Regions from separate parts of the Homo sapiens genome. Here region 1 is linked to region 2. Evidence: promoter capture Hi-C in 16 types of primary human blood cells and fetal thymus (Javierre and others, 2016). All regions are on one chromosome and are shown on one strand. Each heading gives the region's core, a stretch centred on a gene start or on the middle of the fragment in contact. The rest is flanking DNA. Distances are from core to core; before and after follow the strand shown.

Evidence for each region. Contacts are between HindIII fragments. The CHiCAGO score rates a contact against its expected background, and 5 or more counts as called.
Region 1: a contact is called between the fragment with the promoter of ZNF487 here and the fragment with the promoter of ZNF33B in region 2, in 3 of 17 cell types (total B cells, total CD8 T cells and fetal thymus). The highest score is 6.1, in total B cells.

What each region holds. Positions count from the first base shown.
Region 1 is chr10:43,435,774-43,438,473 of GRCh38, reverse strand. It overlaps ZNF487 (zinc finger protein 487), which reads right to left and starts at 1,363. Exons shown (of 4, transcript NM_001355444.3): 1 at 1,212-1,363. RefSeq lists a silencer at 1,079-1,738 and an enhancer at 1,839-1,908. The HindIII fragment of the contact is 37,036 bases long and covers 1-2,700 here.
Region 2 is chr10:42,637,253-42,639,987 of GRCh38, reverse strand. It overlaps ZNF33B (zinc finger protein 33B), which reads left to right and starts at 1,418. Exons shown (of 5, transcript NM_006955.3): 1 at 1,418-1,514. LOC105378268 (a long non-coding RNA gene) reads right to left here and starts at 1,683. Exons shown (of 2, transcript XR_945898.3): 1 at 1,435-1,683. RefSeq lists a silencer at 1,499-1,668 and enhancers at 1,859-2,128, 1,788-2,656. The HindIII fragment of the contact is 7,213 bases long and covers 683-2,735 here.

The sequences.
Region 1 (2,700 bases), core at 114-2,613, 800 kb before region 2:
TGGCTCACGCCTGTAATCCCAGCACTTTGGGGGGCTGAGGCAGGTGGATCACCTGAGGTCAATAATTCGAGACCAGCCTGGCCAACAAGGCAAAACCCTGTCTCTACTAAAAATACAAAAATTAGCCGGGTGTGGTGGCACGTGCCTGTAACCCTCGTCACTTGGGAGGCTGAGGCAGGAGAATTGCTTGAAGCCAGGAGGTGGAGGTTTCAGTGAGCCAAAATCACGCCACTGCACTCCAGCCTGGGCGACAGAGGGAGACTCCACCTCAAAATATATATATATATGGAACCTAAGACAAAAGCCTGCACTCACCCCTAATCTGCTAAATTCAAGTTCTCTCCATGATGAGGTTTCAAAAGGAATTAGTGCAAAATGTATTTAAGGATATGACCAGAAAGGAGAAAGAAAAAACAAATGGCTATTACACACACAGCAGAAAAGTAACACTAGGAGGCAAAGGAACTCAATGAAGAAATATTTCGGTGGCAGGCGGTGGTTCAGCCTGTAATCCCCGCACTTTGGAAAGCTAAAGCAGGAGAATCACTTGAGCCCAGGAGTTCAAGACCAGCCTGAGCAACATAGTGATACCCCTGTTTCTATTTATAAATAAATAAATAAATAAATATTTCCAACCAAAGAATACAAACTTAGTAAAGCTAATGAAGGAAGAACACAGTGAAGAGCTGCCGATGTAAGAGAAAAAAAGAAAATTTCCGGAGGAAAAAAGTTCAAAGATTTGCAACTATTTCCTCAGAAGGAACTGGGAAAAGGGAGTTTTGAGTAATAAGGCCTTGTGCAAGTTTCTGACTCTTAAGGATGTGAATGTACTGCCTTAAAAAATAAACTAAAAAGAGCCTCTTTTCTCACCACAACTCAACAATCATGAAGGTATCCTTGCAAGTGTGTGTAGACCTCTCATGCCTCCTAGGTCCAGGGTCACTCGTCCAGGACTCTCCCAATATCCCTGCCCAGAGGAAGCGCTTCCTCAGACTCGGTTCCTTCTGGTTGCCCTTGTCTCGCTTCTCTAGGGTGGGCTGGCCGCTCCCGCACTGGGGTCAAAGATCCTCCGGGTTCTCTCTGCCACGACTCGCCCTGATCCCAAATCCCAGCCCCACGGTCCCCACCCCCAGCGGGCCCAGTCCCCGCTCGATCCTGGGTGTGCGGCCCTCGACCTCAGACCCGGCCCCTGCCCGCCGGCCGCCCCTCACCTCGGCCTCGGAGGCTCCACGCTCCCCCTCTCACAGCCCGCACCTCGGCGGTCTCTCGGAGGAGGGAGGAACCCGAGGTACCTGGTAGTCGTAGCTGAGGAACTTACAGGCTTGTTGACCATCTCACCATGGAAACTGCCGCAGCGCTCCCTGGGCGGGGCCGCCGAGGGGCGGGGCCTGCGCGAATCCCGGGCGCCCGCCAGTCCAGCGCTCCCTGCGCTTCCGGAAGCCTTGCTGCTCCCGCGTGCCTAGCGGGGGCTCGGCCCTATGCCACGGGCATCCCACCCTGCTACCAGCTGCCCTCTTGTCCGCTGGCCGGACTCTTACCCCAGCCTTCTTCAGGAAGACACGGCGCAGTCCGGCTTCCCCACGAAAGCGAAGGTCGCTGGGACCGCGGCTGGGCGTCCGGGGGCGGGGCCGCGACGCCATTGTGACGCGCTCGGAGCAGGGCTGGGCCGAGGACCCCGGGCGCTGGAGGGCAGGCCCTAGCCACTGCTCCTGAGGCCCTGGAGGCAGCTGACGCTTGAGGCCGCTGGGCGCCGCAACGTGAGCCCAAAGGACGCCCCGCTTCAAGACTGGCGCAAGAGGAAAAAATGAAGGTCGTTTTCTGCGGAGGATGTTAGGAGAACGAGAACTGCGGGCCAGAGAACTGACCTAGCTTAAGGAGCGCAGGCAGCCTCTGCCGCCGGCTCTTGGGGAGACACGGAGAGGATGGGGTCCCCGCTCCGCATCAGGTCCTCTGACGCACCCCGGCTTTCCAGGAGGTAGGACTGGCCACAGGCCTCCTTCCCAGGGACAAAGTGCAAAGCAGAGGCTGTCAGCAGCGTGACCTTCGCTGCAGGAGAAATACGCGTCCAGTTCGTTTTCGTCAGAGTTCTGCTACATCAGGCCTGCCGTATTTGCTGTACACAAATCAGCCAACTTCCCAGGCCTGGGTGCGGAGGTATTTGTTAAGCACATGCACACAGTTGGAATTAGCAGCCTCAGGGATCAAAAGTTGTCCTTTTTTTTTTTTTTTTTTTTGGAGACGAAGTTTCGCTCTTGTTGCCCAGGCTGGAGTGCAGTGGCGCGATCTTGGCTCACTGCAACCTCCGCCTCCCGAGTTCAAGTGATTCTCCTACCTCAGGCTCCCGAGTAGCTGGGATTACAGTCGTCCGCCACCACGCCCGGTTAATTTTTTTTGTTTTTAGTAGAGATGGGGTTTCACCATTTTGGCCAGGCTGGTGTCGAACTCTTTTTTTTTTTTTTTTTTTTTTTTTTTGAGACGGAGTCTCGCTCTGTCACCCAGGGTGGAGTGCAGTGGCGCGATCTCAGCTCACTGCAAGCTCCGCCTCCCAGGGTCACGCCATTGTCTTGCCTCAGCCTCCCGAGTAGCTGGGACTACAGGCGCCCGCCACCACGCCCGGCTAATTTTTTGTATTTTTAGTAGAGACGGGGTTTCACCGTGTTAGCCAGGTTGGTCTTGATCTCCTGACCTCGTGATCCGCCC
Region 2 (2,735 bases), core at 169-2,668:
AAGTTTTGCTGGAATGGAGCTGCTTATTTTTCTCTATTATAAAATGTAACTGATATTAAATTTATAGTTTCTGTCTTTGGTATCACATCCCTTTTTGGTTTTTTTTGAGACAAAGTCTCACTTTGTCACCCAGGCTGGAGTGCAGTGGTGCCATGATGGCTTACTGCAACCTGGGGCTCAAGTGATCGTCCAACCTCAGCCTCCTGAGTAGCTGGGATCACAGGCGCCTGCCTACATGCCCAGCTAATTGTTATTTTTAATTTTTTGTAGAGACAGGGGTCCCACTATAACGCCCAGGCTGGTCTTGGACTCTAAGGATCAAGTGGTCCTCCTGCCTCCACCTCCCAAACTGCTGGGATTACAGGTGTGGGCCACTGTGCCTGGCCCACATGTCAATTTTCAAAAATTTATACTCGTTTAAATGTTTCAATACTGTATACATGTGAATTTTATCACGTGTGATCTATATATATCTCTATATTCCAAATTGTTAGGAATGACATGCTCTTTGGAATACTCCATTCTTTCCCTCACTGTTTTGAAATGCTGTATTTACTACACATTAAAGAATACTCTCAATCATGGTGTCTTATTTCCATGGAGCAGGTGCCAAACTACTTTGAATAGAGCAATATTATATATATAGATAGATATAGATATTTCTCAGGCATTTTTTCAAGCTTTTTAAAACGTATAATGGCTGTTCATTTAGTTTTTTACTTACTCTGGATAAAGTTGACAATGCTTTTGTAAAGTACACAATACACTAAAGATCAAAGAGAAAAAATACATAAAAAAATTTGTTGATATTCTTTTAGGAATTTTGTCTTCCTAAGAAAGGTACAGATAGACTAAATGTATTTCCATTTAGTCAAGCAATTTTAATGTCACAGGGGAAATCATGTGACATTTATTTTCTTCTTTCGGATTATGTCTATTTTCTGACTTTTCAATTTCCGTTTATTGCGTTAACGATTTTGATGAAGTAGCTTTCCTGTGGCACCTCCCCCATCCCCCCCATCCCTGCTCTCAAAGAATCGCTGATAGTGTCAAAGTCTTTTAAACTGTATCAATAAGATCTACTTCCTAACATTTAAAGTGAAACTGACACACAGCTGTCCTTTCCTTGAGGCGTCTGTGTCTAACCTGCACACTTGCTGCACACAGACCTCCCCTGCAGTGCATCCCTTTGGGTCGCCCCGGGAGAGCCAGGGCTGCGGGCAGTTCCCACACCAACTCAGACCGCATCTGTCCACTGCCTAGCGGGGCACCTCTCTGCCAATCCCGAAGGGCTGCTCTCGCGTCCTCACGGGAAAGGTAGTTTCCAGGTTGGGCGCCAACAGCGCCAGGCTTTGAGCGTGGGCTCTGCGCATGCCTCATCCACTGGCTACCTCTGCGTTTCTGCGTTTCCGCCTTTCCTTTTGTTTGTCTCACGTTTTGCGTGGGAGGCGGTCCCGGGATTTCAGGGGTCTACCGGCTCTCTTATGGCGAATGCAACCCGAAGAGAGAGTGAGGTAAGCCTCCGCGGGTTGGGCAGGGACGGAGAGGGGGCCCCGCGCGACTCCAGGAGCAGGCAGCCGGGGGCCAGTGCCAGGTGGTGGCGAGGAGTCCCGGGGACCTCACGGAGAAGCCGGGGACGGCGGGGCTGCAGCATGTCTACCAGGACGCTACGCCAGTTCCTCTAAGGCGCAGCCTCTGTAGGGAGCGGGCTACGCCCTGTGCGTTGCCCTGTTTGTAGGGGCCGCGGAGGAGGGCATGTGCGCTTGCGCGGTCCGAGCGCTGAGCCTTGCGGGAGGGGCAGTTCTCTGGTTGAGCGTGTTTACGCCCATGTGCTAGGGCGCGGCCCTACCTGGGTAGGAAAGGGCGGGTGCAGTCGCCCGCCCGACATACGGACTCTGTTGCCCGTTCTGCGTTCATCCTCTTTAGGTTTCGAACTGCCCTCCAGTCATGTCCATCACCCCATCTTGTTATTTGCTGTTCCTCTGTCCTAACTTGATCTTGCACTCAGGAAGGATCTTCAAGAATTACATAATTTTGGCCTAGCGCGGTGGCTCTCTCCTGTAATCCTGCACTTTGGGAGGCCGAGGAGGGTGGATCACCTGAGGTCAGGAATTCGAGACCAGCCTGACCAACATGGCAAATCCCCGTCTCTACTAAAAATACTAAAAGTAGCCATGCGTGGTGGCCTATGACTGTAATCCCAGCTACTGAGGCAGAGAAATGCTTGAACCCGGGAGGCGGAGGTTGCAGGTAGCTGAGATTGCACCATTGCACTCCAGACTGGGCAACAAGAACGAAACTCCGTCTCAAAAACAAACAAACAAACAAAAAACCAGAATTACCTAATTTTGCCTCATTTGTTAGAAGAAAAAATAATTTTTTTGTTTTTTGTTTGTCAAGGTTACTGACTTGTTCAGGATCAAAGTTTGTTAGTAGGGAGAACTAAAAGTCACTTCTCCTGACCCCTAAGCCAGTACTACTTTTCTACACACATCAAAGCAAGTTTAAAACATCCTTTTGAGAAATAGCAACAAAGTTAGATGAAGAAATTAAAACGGATTTTTTCTTTGAAGCACTGACGCTTATGGTTTTCTGTGGACTAACTCATCAGAGGTTAAGTAACATTACTGGGAAAATCGATAGCCTAGTCCTATTCTTTACAATGGTTTTAGTGTTAATGTTTTTTCATTAAATGTATTGTTAACTTGTTTGGCCAATATTGTCATTATACATTT